4 separate regions of the Homo sapiens genome follow, and regions 1, 2 and 4 are each linked to region 3. Evidence: promoter capture Hi-C in human tissues and cell types (Jung and others, 2019). All regions are on one chromosome and are shown on one strand. The core of a region is centred on a gene start or on the middle of the fragment in contact, and the rest is flanking DNA. Distances in the headings are between cores, read along the strand shown. Region 1 has its middle 15 kb from the start of SRCAP. Region 2 overlaps SRCAP (Snf2 related CREBBP activator protein). Region 3 holds the start of TBX6 (T-box transcription factor 6). Region 4 holds the start of RNF40 (ring finger protein 40).

Region 1 (3,345 bases), core at 63-2,562, 590 kb before region 3:
GGTGTATGTAATCCTCTAGAGCTGTTTCTTTCTTTCTTTTTGAGACGGAGTCTCGCTCTGTTGCCCAGGCTGGAGTGCAGTGGCGCAATCTCGGCTCACTGCAAGCTCCGCCTCCTGGGTTCACGCCATTCTCCTGCCTCAGCCTCCCGAGTAGCTGGGACTACAGGCACCCGCCACCACGCCCGGATAATTTTTTGTATTTTTAGTAGAGGCGGGGTTTCACTGTGTTAGCCAGGATGGTCTCAATCTCCTGATCTCATGATCCGCCCACCTCGGCCTCCCAAAATGCTGGGATTACAGGCGTGAGCCACCGCGCCTGGCAAGCTGTTTCTTTTTTACACTCGATATTGTATTGACAAAAATCATTCATACTTTTATGTGTGGCTGTGGTTCATTGAAATTTCACTTTTTTTTTTTTTTTTTTTTTTGAGATGGAGTGTTGCTCTGTCGCCCAGGCTATAGTGCAGTGGCGCGATCTCCGCTCACTGCAAGCTCTGCCTCCTGGGCTCACGTCATTCTCCTGCCTCAGCCTCCCGAGTAGCTGGGACTACAGGCGCCCACCACCACGCCCGGAGAACTTTTTGTATTTTTAGTGAAGACGGGGTTTCACCATGTTAGCCAGGATGGTCTCGATCTCCTGACCTCGTGATCCACCCGCCTCGGCCTCCCAAAGTGCTGGGATTACAGGCGTGAGCCACCGCGCCCAGCCGAAATTTCACTCTTTTATAATATTTTATTTTGTCAAGGTACCCCAATGTATTTATCTGTTCTCCTGTTGAAGGGCATTTTGGTTTCTTTATGAGTGTTTCTATCATATGTTGACTGCAGTTATGAATATTCATGTACATGTCTCCTGGAACACTTGAGCAAGACTTACTCCTGGATATTTGCCCAAAAATGGAACTGCTGGGTTTTAAGGTATGTAAATGTTCAATTTGACAAGATAATGATAATTTTTGGCTGGGCGCGGTGGCTCAGGCCCGTAATCCCAGCATTTGGGAGGCCGAGGTAGGTGGATCACTTGAGGCCAAGAGTTCAAGACTAGCCTGGGCAACATGGTGAAATCCCATCTCCACCAGAAAATACAAAAGTTAGCCGGGTGTGGTGGCATGCACCTTTAGTCCCCAGCTACTTGGGAGGCTGAGGCAGAGGCTGCAGTGAGCCGAAATCGTACCATTGTACTCCAGCTTGGGCAACAGAGCAAGACTCTGTCTCAAAAAAAAAAAAAAGATAATCTTCTTCAAAATGGCTGTACAGATACAGATTCCCTCCAGCAATGTATAGAAGATCTGTTGTTCAATACTTGGTGTTATCTGACTTCTTAATTTTTGCCATATACTGGGTATAAAATAGTATCTCATTATGATCTCAATCTATATTTCCTTGATCACTAATGATGGTGAGCATCTCTTCATAAGCTTTTTAGCCATGTTTCGTTCTTGTTGAAATGCATGTTCAAGTCTTGTGTCCATTTTTCTACTAGCTTATTGTCATTTATTGATTTTTTCAAGACAGGGTTTCGCTCTGTTGCCCAGGCTAGAGTACAGTGGCATGACATAGTTCACTGAAGCCTCGAACTCCTGTGCTAAAGTGATCCTCCCTCCTCAGCCTCCTGAGTAGCTGAGACTACAGTTGCACACCACCATACCCGACTAATTTTTTTTTCAGTAGAGACAGTCTTACTATGTTGCACAGGCTGGCTTTACTGATTTTTTCTTTTTCTTTTTCTTTTTTTTTTTTTTTTTTGAGACGGAGTCTTGCTCAGTTGCCCAGGCTGGAGTACAGTGGCGCGATCTTGGCTCACTCCAAGCTCCTCCTCCTGGGTTCACACCATTCTCCTGCCTCAGCCTCCCGAGTAGCTGAGACTACAGGTGCCCGCCACCATGCCTGGCTAATTTTTTTTGTATTTTTAGTAGAGACGGGGTTTCACCATGTTAGCCAGTATGGTCTCGATCTCCTGACCTCGTGATCCACCCACCTTGGCCTCCCAAAGTGCTGGGATTACAGGCTTGAGCCACCATGCCTGGCTGGCTTTACTGATTTTTACAAGGCCTTTAGGTTATCTCAGTATATATTTTTGAATGGCTATATGTGTTTACACATATCTTCTTCAAGTTTGTAGCTTATAATTTCATTCATTTTAGTATAGTTTCATTCATTACTATTTTCTTTTATAGTTAACCTTTTGTGTTGTTTGAGTTTTCATTACTCCCAACTTCAGAAAGAAATTCCCTTACTTTTCTCCTTAAAGTTTTAGTTTTGCTTTTGATAATTAAGTCCTTATATATTGAGTTGACTTTTGAATATAGTGTGGGTCACTGATTTTTTCACTGATTTTTTTTTTTTTTTTGGAGACAGAGTCTTGCTCTGTTGCCCAGGCTAGAGTGCAGTGGCATGATCTCGGCTCACTGAAACCTCTGCCTCCCAGGTTCAAGCAATTCTTCTGCCTCAGCCTCCCAAGTAGCTGGGATTACAGGCGCCCACCACTGTGCCTTGCTAATTTTTGTATTTTTAGTAGAGACAGTGTTTCACCATCTTGGCCAGGCTGGTCTCGAACTCCTGACCTCGTGATCCAACTGCCTCGGCCTCCCAAAGTGCTGGGATTATAGGCACGAGCCACTGCGCCCGGCAGGTCACTGATTTAATTTCATCTTCTCCCATATGGATGACCTTTCTTTCCATATGGGAGAAACAGAATCTTGCTCTGTCACCCAGGCTGGAGTGCAGTGGCATGATCTCTGCTCACTGCAGCATCCGCCCCCGGATTCAAGCAATTCTCCTGCCTCAGCCTCCCGAGTATCTGGGATTATAGGCATGTGCCACCACGCTGGGATAATTTTTGCATTTTTAGTAGAGATGGGGTTTCACCATGTTGGCCAGGCTGGTCTCAAACTCCTGACCTAAGGTGATCTGCCCGCCTCGGTCTCCCAAAGTGTTGGGATTACAGGCATGAGCCACCGCGCCCAGCCCATCTCCATTTATTGATGAGCACCTCCTTTGATCTGGCATACCACCCTGTCATTATTAAAGTTTCATATATTCATGAGTTAATTTTGGTGACTTCCTACCCCTAGCAACACTACCTCATCTTTTTTGCCACAGCTCTATAACAATTCTGGTGGAGCAAATCTCCTCTCCCTTTTTCTTCAGGAGTATCTTTCTGTTCTGAGCCCTTCCTATACTTTTTTTTTTTTTTTTTTTGAGATGGAGTCTCGCTCTGTTGCCCAGGCTGGGGTGCAGTGGCGCGATTTCGGCTCACTGCAACCTCCGCCTCCTGGGTTCAAGCGATTCTCCCGCTTCAGCCTCCCGAGTAGCTGGGACTACAGGCACCCGCCACCATGCCCA
Region 2 (3,050 bases), core at 309-2,808, 610 kb before region 3:
GTGGGTGTGGAGTGGAAGGGAGAAGGAATGAACATGGCAGGAGGCAAGACCGAAAATACAGACGGAAACTGGGTAGTACTTAAGAAATAATTACAACTTACTATACAGGCAGTGGGAACTTTGACGGAATTTAAGCATGTGCTAAGTGGCACAAATACATTTCAGTAAACACATGCTAAATGCCCTGCAAGGGACAGATGGCCTAGAGGTGTCAAGGAGAACTATTAACAATCCCCAAAGGCAGGACCCATATTTTGCCACTATACTTTTTTATCCATACAACATAAACGTCATTAGAGTTGCCTGAAATTATATTTACTCCCTCAAGAAGTTTTGATCATTCCTACTACCACGCCATCTACCAATCTAATCCAAGGCCATTTTCCTTTCCTGATCCCCACTGTCTACCTTCTCCACATTGCTCCAGAACTGCCTGACATCCTTGGCCATGGTGGAAGCAATTCGACGCAGCTTGGCCTGCTCCTCCCTCCGGGCCCGTTCCTCTTTCTGCCGCTGCTCCTCGTGGTGCCGGATCACCATGCGCACCACCTGTGGGAATGAAGACCCAGGGTGAAAACACTCAAAGCCAGACTTCCCCACCCAAAGGCAAAGAAAATAATCAAGGCCAAGAAATCTGGAAAATCAAGAGTTTGCTCTTAATGCCTACACCATTCTGTCTGGTCCCCTTCCAACAAACCGGGAAGGAACAGACCTGAAAAGGAAAAGGAAGGAAGTCCCAGCGGAAGACCTACCTTCCGGGCCACACCCCGTTTCCAACGGCGCTCCTGAGCAAAGTCAGCAGAGAGCCACTGCATCTCTTCGCACAAATAGTCCCAGTGACCTTTGGGGCGAGGGGGCTCTGGCACCTTAGGCAGCCTCTTCAGTGACCAGAAACCCTCCTTCCGCAGCTCAGCAATCCGAGTCTCGATCTCGGCCTCCTAATCAGGGAGAGCCAGATCAATCAACAGTTCTAAACACACACTCCATCTCACTGCCACGGCTGAATTCCTGAGCACTAAGTGGGCTGAGTGTGTTATGCTTATGTTTAGTCCACATACCAAACTTACAGGCAGGTATCATACTCTCTTCAGAGAAGGGAAAAAAGATCAGGGAGATGAAGAAGGAAAAAAGATCAGGGAGATTAAGTGATTTGCCCAAGATCACACAGCTAGAAAGTAATAGAAAATGTGAATCAAAAATAGGTCTGAGGACTCCAGACAGCAAATTTCATGCTCTTTCCATTATTTAACACAATCTCCACACCCCATAGACATAGGAGAGACTTGGGAAATCATATCCCAAGAGGAGCTTCCCAGAGGAGTAGGGAACACATACTTCCCTCTTGATTCTAGATACAAGGGGTCATCATCATTGTAGAATTCTACTTACTCAGAGTATTTTCATGATGCATTAAGCTTAGAAATATGCTATAATGCCCAACTGACACACTGTTGTTTTTAAAAATACTACTTTTGTAAAAATGCATATGTTTATGTAAAAAATACTGAAACGTTATACGTGAAATGTTTAACACTGATTAGGTGTAAAAAAGAGTGGTCATTTTTACTAAAGCTTCTACACTGATTGTCTTTTATTTAAAAAGCATTTAAAATTTTTTTGACAGAGACGACTCAAAAAATTCAGGACAACTGCCTTATTTCTTTTTCTGAATCTCACTCAGAAATCTGAGTGAGATTTTTCTGGGTCTCACTCTGCTGCCTAGGCTCAGGTTATCTTCCCAACTCAGCCTCCCAACTCAGCCTCCCAGGTAGCTGAGACTGACTATAGGCACATGCAACCATGCCCAGCTAATTTTTTTGTATTTTTCGTAGGGGCGAGGTTTCACAATGTCAAGGCTGGTCTGGAACTCCTGGGTTTAAGCAATCCGCCTGCCTGGGATTCCCAAAATGCTCAGATTATAGGCGAAAACCACCGCACCCAGCCTCTGTCTTTGTTATTTCTGTCCTCTCCTGATAAAAACTAAATCAGAGAAAATGACAGCCAGAGACCAGACAGGACTAAATGGCCTGACAGTGAAGGAAACATCAAGAAAGACGTGGATATTAGACCAGCTGCTCTCAAACTTGAGGAGGCACCGGAATCATCTGGAGGACTTTTAGAAACAGGTTGTGCTCACACCTGTAATCCCAGCACTTTGGGAGGCCAAGGCGGGTGGATCACAAGGTCAGGAGATCGAGACCATCTTGGCTAAAACGGTGAAACCCCGTGTCTACTAAAAACACAAAAAATTAGCCAGGCATAGTGGCGAGCGCTTAGTCCCAGCTACTCGGGAGGCTGAGGCAGGAGAATGGCGTGAACCCAGGAGGCGGAGCTTGCAGTGAGCCGAGATCATGCCACTGCACTCCAGCCTCAGCGAAAGACTGAGACTCCGTCTCAAGGAAAAAAAAAAAAACCCAATTGTGGCCGGGCGCAGTGGCTCATGCCTGTAATCCCAGCACTTTCAGAGGCCGAGGCTGGCAGATCACAAGGTCAAGAGATCAAGACCATCCCGCCAACATGGTGAAACCCCATCTCTACTAAAAATACAAAAAATTTAGCCGGGTGTGATGGCGGGCGCCTGTAGTCCTAGCTACTCAGGAGGCTGAGGCCAGAGAATGGCTGTGAACCCGGGAGGCGGAGCTTGCAGTGAGCCAAAATTCTGCCACTGCACTCCAGCCTGGGCGACAGAGCGAGACTCCGTCTCAACAAAATAAATAAATAAAATAAAAATAAAAATAAAAAATAAAAACATTGCTGGGCCCTACCCTCATAGTTTCAAATGGGTCGGTGGGTGAGAGGTACCAAGAATTTGCATTTTTTTTTGAGACAGAGTCTCACTGTTACCCAGGCTGGTGTGCAGTGGCATCATCTCAGGTCACTGCAACCTCCGGTTCCCAGTTCAAGCAATTTCCCTGCCTCAGCTTCCTGAGTAGCTAGGACTACAGGCCTGCGCCACCACGCCAGGCTAATTTTTGTATTTTTAGCAGAGATGGGATTTTGCCACGTTGGCCAGGCTGGTCTCGAACTCCTGACCTCAGGTGATCCACCCG
Region 3 (3,070 bases), core at 335-2,834:
AGGTGGATCACCTGAGGTCAGGAGTTCGAGAACAGCCTGACTAACATGGTGAAACCCCATCTCTACTAAAAATACAAAAATTAGCTCGGCGTGGTGGTGGGCGCCTGTAATCCCAGCTACTCGGGGCCAAGGCAGCAGAATCACTTGAACCCGGGAAGCGGAGGTTGCAGTGAGCCGATATCGCGCCGTTGCACTTCCAGCCTGGGCGACAGAGCAAGACTCCCTCTCAAAACCAAACAAACAAAAAAACCTCAAGTGCCTGCAAGGCCAAGCAGATACTGTAGATGTGTAAAGGGTAGCATAGATTGGCAGGGTTGGGAGTTGGGGGCAGGCTGGGCAAACTGGAGTGAGCAAGGCCTACTTATATTTTAATACTTTAAAGTTATTTTTATTAAACTGTCTGCTGTCCAAACATAATACATGTTGTAGGCCAAAATGGCCATGAAGCTACCAGTTTGCAAACCCTGAACTGTGAAATCTTTTAGCCACTTCCCTATCTTCTCTGTTGGAGCCATCATTAGTACTTAAAAAAGTACCTTTGAGTCAGGGAGTTCTATTCTACTCTGTGTTTGTGAGAAATACGGCCCTGCCCCTCTGGGCCACAGTTTCCTCATATGTAAAATGGGGCCACTCATGTCCACTTCCCAACCCCAGTGCCTTGTGGTGAGACTGTTGCTCCGGGGATGACGGTCCCGCCCCTCCTTTCAGGAACAGGCCTTTGAGAGCAGCCAGAAGTACAAAGAGGGGAAGTACATCATTGAACTCAACCACATGATCAAAGACAACGGCTGGGACTGACCCCCGCTCCCCCGACGCATGTGGCTCCAGCCCGGCCTGGCCGCCAGGGAGCGCCACTGGCTTCCCGCCACCCGAAGGGAGCTCTGGACCCTCAGAGCCCCTGCAGAGGACGGATCTAGCTCCTGTATATATATTTTATTGCATGCACTGTGACCTTGGGGGGAGAACAGAAGGGGGACGACGCCCCCGCACCTCCTGCGATCTGGCTGGCTTGGATCTCGTTTTTAACCCGTTCCTGCCCCACCTGCCCTATAGTTATGGCCTGTGTTCTGCTCTCCTGGTCCCAGTGCACCGTCTGCTCTGTGAACTCCTCCCACCAGGCCCTTCTTACCCCACGCGTGTCTGTCCCCCTCGTTCTGTAGCGTTTGTACATAATAAAACAATGGAGTGGAGACAGCTCAGGCTCGCGTGTAATCCGGGAAGGGGGAGCTCAAGCGGAGATTTCCGCCCCTATAGACCTGTGCGGTTCTGAGCCCCGGCGGGGCATGGGGTAGGCACAGCCGTCCAAGCTGGGTCTCCGGGAACCGGGACGGTTTCACTGCTGGCGGAGGTCCTGAGCCCACTCTGGCTGCCTACGCCGTGACCTCGGCTGATCTGCGTCTGCTCATCTGCAGCGTTTGGCCGCCGCCTAGGGGCAGCGTCCCAGGGAGGCAACCGCGCCGCCGGCCTCGCAGCCCCCTCGCGGTCGGACTGCAACTCCCAGCGGCCCCCGCGTGGTCCGTCCGGCTCCTTCGGGCGCGCCTCAGCGCTGAGCCTGCCGGGAAGTGTAGTTCCGAGGGTTCCCCAGCGCGGGACCTTCGGGAAACCCTGGCGCGAGGCGTCAGAAGCTGTCGGACTGTGAGCGCCTTCGAACTTTGGAGGCTTGGCTCGGGATGGAGGTTTTTTTAGCATGGGGACCAGGGAGGACTACGGTGCTCGGGACTGGGCTGCGGCCTCCTCGCGGCCCCGAGTGCCCTGTGAAATCAGCTCAGGCCGCGTCCCTCTAGCCTGCACTTTCCCTCTGTTCACGCTGCTTCCCTCCAGGGCCCGGCCTCCAAGTGAAGGGGGGCGGAGGGCGGTCACCTGCCAGAAGGTCTGGGGCGCCAAGGTGTGTCCCGGGACTCTTGGCTCCGTCCAGGTTCCAGGCCCCGCCCCCCAGCTTATCCCTAGCCGGGGCTCCCCACCGTGGGAACGGGGACCAGCTGGCCGGAAGCGCCAAACTGCGTCCCTGTCCGAGCCCTGGGGATCAATCAAGCCGAGGAGTTAATTATGTAATGAGGGGGCAGGGGGTCGAGGCTAATGAAGCCTCCCGGGGTGGGGAGGGAGGGGAGGAGGGGACCGTACCCAGGTATCCGACCCCCTCTCGGACCCCTTCGAGGCCCCAGGGGTCTCCACCCCAGCCCAACTCCAGGGCCCCAAAGAGGGGAGGGGCTGTGATCCTGGATCTGGAAGGGGCTGAGCTGTGAGCTATAAAGGGGGCATCTCGCAGCACCGGGGGCCCTAAGCAGCGAGACCTGAGGCCAGACGGAACTACAACATGTACCATCCACGAGAATTGTACCCGTCCCTGGGGGCCGGCTACCGCCTGGGGCCCGCCCAACCTGGGGCCGACTCCAGCTTCCCACCCGCCCTAGCGGAGGGCTACCGCTACCCCGGTGAGCGTTGGGACCAGCTCCTGGGTAGGAGAATAGGGGGGCTGTGGCCCTCGGCTGGCTCCTCATTCTTCCCCGGCTTCCAGAACTGGACACCCCTAAACTGGATTGCTTCCTCTCCGGGATGGAGGCTGCTCCCCGCACCCTGGCCGCGCACCCACCTCTGCCCCTTCTGCCCCCTGCCATGGGCACTGAGCCGGCCCCATCAGCTCCAGAGGCCCTCCATTCCCTCCCGGGGGTCAGCCTGAGCCTGGAGAACCGGGAGCTATGGAAGGAGTTCAGCTCTGTGGGAACAGAAATGATCATCACCAAAGCTGGGAGGTGAGGGGCTGGCCAGGGTCCGTGTTTCTGGTGGGGGTCTCTTGGGAAAGGCAGAGTCCCTGGGGAGGGGGCTAGGACTGGGTGGTTCCCGAGGGGCTAGAGCTCTGCCTAGGCCTAGAATCTGACTATGGCCTGGGGCAAGGGTTACTCTGTGGCAGGAATCAGGAGTCACTCTGTGACAAGGGTTAAGGGCCAGTCTGTGGAGTCTGTGGCTGAGTTTAGGGACCAATCTATGGCAAGGGTCATGGGTCAGTCTGGGGCAGGGTCAGGAAGTCCCTCTGGGTTATAGGTTAGTGTGTGGCTTAGACCAGCATCCAGAC
Region 4 (3,303 bases), core at 15-2,514, 670 kb before region 3:
CCCAGATCCCAGCACTCTGGTCCTACCTCTCAGCTCTGATGTCCCCGGCTCTGGGAGAGGAGTCCCATCACATGTTGGCCCCTCCTGGGTCCCAGGTGCCTCAGGCGCTGAAGACAGCTCCCCCTGGCTCTCATGGCATCGGAGAAGGGCTTCCACAGTTTCATCCAGCTGGAAGGAGAAAACATCAAAAATGTTATGAATCCCTTAGTGCTTTCCAACATGATACTCCTTTCCTAGCAGGGGAATCTGGGGATTGGCAGCTGAATCAAGGCCTGGTCTTTGAAAGCAGAAGGTATCCACCTGGGCCCAGTAGCGATTGACGATGAGGAGTGTGGCATCATCTGTGGCCTGCCGCTTCTCCAACTTCTCAATTCGTTCTCGGAGTTCATCTTCACAAGCCTGCCGTTGTTCCAGCCGCTCTGCCAGTTTCTTGTTCTTGAACTGTAGTACCTTCAGGTCCATCTCCTCCTACCAAAGGAAACAAAGGGGCCGACGAGAGCGTCAAGCAGGGCCCACAAACCAATCACAGAGAGAGAAAGAGGAGCAGAGCATCTGCAATGCATGGGAGATGGAGGTATTCCCACACTAACCGCTAACAGAATCTAAGGAGGCTCAGACAACACACAGCGAAAGTGTCTTTGTTGTGAGGAGGCTCACGTTGTTTCTGCCTGTCCCCTTGTAAATCCTTAGTCTTTGACAAGTCACACGCCCCCTGGAAACCTGTTTTCCTATCTGTAAAGGGAAGACAGGCGTCGTGTTCTGAGCTTCTTTCTAACCTTTCTTTCAAGGTCCTGTAACGCGGACCTTGCTAAACTTGGGGAAGTGGGTGTAAGATTCCGCACAGTTTGGCCAGAGAACAGAGGGAGGGCTCTGGGAAGTTCTGAGGGTTAAGGCAAGAGCCCACGAACCGTGGAAGAGATGCCTCCAAGACGAATGGGCTCGATAAGAGTCGTGGTGGTCTTCTCCTCACGACTCAGCTTCTTTTCCGGGGGCCCTGAGCCCCCGTCGCCGGCGGCGCGTTTGTTGCCTGGCCCAGACATGGCCGCGGCGGCTGGAGCGATGCAGGGTCCCCTGAGGGGCGTCAAACGGGAGGAGGCGGTACTTCCGTCACCTGCAGAAGACACAGAGCAGAGATGTGGGAACGGCTGGTGTTCCACAGCCCCAAACACCCTCCACCCTGCACACACCTGCTGGATCCCGTCCCCCCCGGCGCCAGAGCCCTCACCAGCAGGAGGGTCAGCCTAGCGCCGCCATCTTGGATTTCACCGGACGTCACTGGGCGTCACTGGACGCCACTGCCCCCCCCCCAACGGTGCGCAGGGCGCAGGCGCCAAAGGCAGCCCCGGATGTGAGGAAACTTCTTTATCTTCTGCTTCTATTGGTTACGCTTGGTCCCGCCACTCGGGTCCTCTGGCTTCTTCCCAAACACCTCCTCTTTCTCTCGGTGATTGGCCAAGAGGCAGTTCCCATAGTAACTGACACCGCGCTCCCACTTCCCAGCCTGGAGGACAGCACCGGCCCTCGTATTAGCAACCTGGAAGAGAGGGCGCCCAGGTGGGCACTCGCAACTTCTCACGTATCTGCGCGTTCTCTTCGCTCCCACTGGCGTGAGCCTGCGCTTTCCGCCTTCCTTCCCTCACAAGCCCCCTTGGCAACCGTCGCCGTTGAGACGGAGGGAGACGCCCCCACGGATTCGCCCCGCCGCGCCTCTCCGCGCGTAGATTGGCCGGAGCGAGGCGAACGGGCCCGGCCTTGGTAGCCGCCGACCGAGCGCTGGCTGTCCTGGAACCTAGGCGGCGGGAGCCCGGGGCGCCTCGCGGCACGGAAGAGCGGCGAGATGCTCAACCGCAAGACCAGCCACTTTTTGGGAATGAGGGTGCAGTCGGAGCTTGAACATCTCTCCGAGCTGCGGCGGGAAGCGGGGAAGGATCGCAGCTCAGTGCATGGGTCGGCCGCGCGGACGCGTGCGAGTGTGCGGACTCAGTGGACGACGGCGGCGGCGGCGAAAGCGGATGAAGACCCCGGAGCCAACTTGTTTCCGGTGAGGGCGGGACAGTCTGGTCTGCTCGTGAATATTTATAAACCGGCTCCCCCGCAGGCGCCACCTGTCATTATGCTTACTAACGTTCGGGACGTCTCCCGGGCTGCTTGGGCGAGGAGAGGCAGGGGTGTGTGACCCCGGTGGTTACTGTGCTCGCGTAGAGCACCTAGGGCCTGCTGAAGCCCTCCCTCGCCCGCGCCTCTCCTTAGTCCTTGAGATGAGATGGCAAGTTACAGCGGCTTCTCCGGCCTGCTGGAGATTCGCTACGGGCCAGGACACCGCAGCTGCCTTCCCCAATTCGCTTTCTTTCCGCAGCCGCCGCTGCCCCGACCCCGGATCTGCATGTGGTGAGTGTGAAGAGACAAAAATTACACTGAATATTTGCGTTCTTTATTGTCTCCCCAACAGTCCTGTCTGTGGCCAGGGCATCCCCATTTTACAGATGAGACTGAGGCCTGGAGATGCAATTACTCCAGGTGACTGGAAGTTGGCTTTCCAGCCTCTCCAGTCCAAAGAGGAGGCAGTGTGAGAAAAAAAGAGCCAAAGACAGAATGTAAATGGAGTCTCATGGCCGCTAAGGAGTATTGTACAGAGGGGGACACTGAGGGCCACAGGGAGTACTTGACCAAGGTCATACAAGGTAGTGGCAGAGCAGAAAAAAGAATTCAAGATTCCTAACCCTAGGCTTTAGAAATGGAGAGGCTCATAAGAGTTCATTTAGGCCCAGAGAGTTAACGATTTGCATAGTCACACAGCAAGCTGGCAAAAGAGCCCAGCTTCACGCCGGTGGCCAACTCCCAGTCTCACGCACTAGCTGTCACAGCCTTGTCATGATAGGTAACGGCCACCAATACTCTTTTTCTTTTACTATAACAGGAAGTACCTGGACGTCCATTCCATGCACCAGCTGGAGAAGACCACCAATGCTGAGATGAGGGAGTAGGGACTGAGGGGGGCGTGGGAAGAGCTCTTGGCAAAGGCTGAGGGGTCAGGTTGGGAAAACATGAGGAATGGCTGACTCCAAAGCATGTGGTGGGTGTAGGGTGATGAAAGGAGGCCCAGTTGTCACTCACTCCTCTCTCCCTCCCAAGGGTGCTGGCTGAGCTGCTGGAGCTAGGGTGTCCTGAGCAGAGCCTGAGGGACGCCATCACCCTGGACCTCTTCTGCCACGCGCTCATTTTCTGCCGCCAGCAGGGCTTCTCACTGGAGCAGACGTCAGCGGCTTGTGCCCTGCTCCAGGATCTTCACAAGGCTTGTATTGG

What was found. The method cuts DNA at HindIII sites, captures the fragments that hold promoters and counts their contacts. A contact is called where the count stands out against the background at its distance.
Region 1: a contact is called between a fragment that was not itself captured here and the fragment with the promoter of TBX6 in region 3, in 1 of the 25 tissues and cell types used here (dorsolateral prefrontal cortex).
Region 2: a fragment that was not itself captured here is called in contact with the fragment with the promoter of TBX6 in region 3 in 1 of the 25 tissues and cell types used here (bladder).
Region 4: a contact is called between the fragment with the promoter of RNF40 here and the fragment with the promoter of TBX6 in region 3, in 4 of the 25 tissues and cell types used here (adrenal gland, lymphoblastoid cells, small bowel and 1 more).

Annotation. Positions count from the first base shown.
Region 1 is chr16:30,682,200-30,685,544 of GRCh38, reverse strand. No RefSeq gene overlaps it. Among named protein-coding and RNA genes, the nearest start is that of SRCAP, 15 kb to the left of the region's middle. RefSeq lists an enhancer at 3,340-3,345. The HindIII fragment of the contact is 3,782 bases long and covers 1-3,203 here.
Region 2 is chr16:30,705,071-30,708,120 of GRCh38, reverse strand. SRCAP (Snf2 related CREBBP activator protein) reads right to left here. Exons shown (of 34, transcript NM_006662.3): 5 at 753-938; 6 at 409-549. Among named protein-coding and RNA genes, the nearest start is that of SNORA30, 3.9 kb to the left of the region's middle. The HindIII fragment of the contact is 5,132 bases long and covers 1-3,050 here.
Region 3 is chr16:30,090,438-30,093,507 of GRCh38, reverse strand. It overlaps TBX6 (T-box transcription factor 6), which reads left to right and starts at 1,584. Exons shown (of 9, transcript NM_004608.4): 1 at 1,584-1,635; 2 at 2,267-2,432; 3 at 2,516-2,750. The coding sequence starts at 2,315. YPEL3 (yippee like 3) reads left to right here. Exons shown (of 4, transcript NM_031477.5): 4 at 709-1,194. The coding sequence ends at 798. RefSeq lists enhancers at 925-1,114, 2,247-3,070 and a silencer at 1,335-1,594. The HindIII fragment of the contact is 30,865 bases long and covers 1-3,070 here.
Region 4 is chr16:30,760,283-30,763,585 of GRCh38, reverse strand. RNF40 (ring finger protein 40) reads right to left here and starts at 1,264. Exons shown (of 20, transcript NM_014771.4): 1 at 1,226-1,264; 2 at 909-1,111; 3 at 301-468; 4 at 27-168. The coding sequence starts at 1,040. PHKG2 (phosphorylase kinase catalytic subunit gamma 2) reads right to left here. Exons shown (of 10, transcript NM_000294.3): 10 at 2,410-3,303. It overlaps CFAP119 (cilia and flagella associated protein 119), which reads left to right and starts at 1,524. Exons shown (of 9, transcript NM_001014979.3): 1 at 1,524-2,041; 2 at 2,357-2,388; 3 at 2,918-2,980; 4 at 3,133-3,302. The coding sequence starts at 1,838. RefSeq lists enhancers at 946-1,055, 1,176-1,435, 923-1,560, 1,516-1,695, 2,286-2,435 and 1 more and a silencer at 1,972-2,201. The HindIII fragment of the contact is 9,225 bases long and covers 1-3,303 here.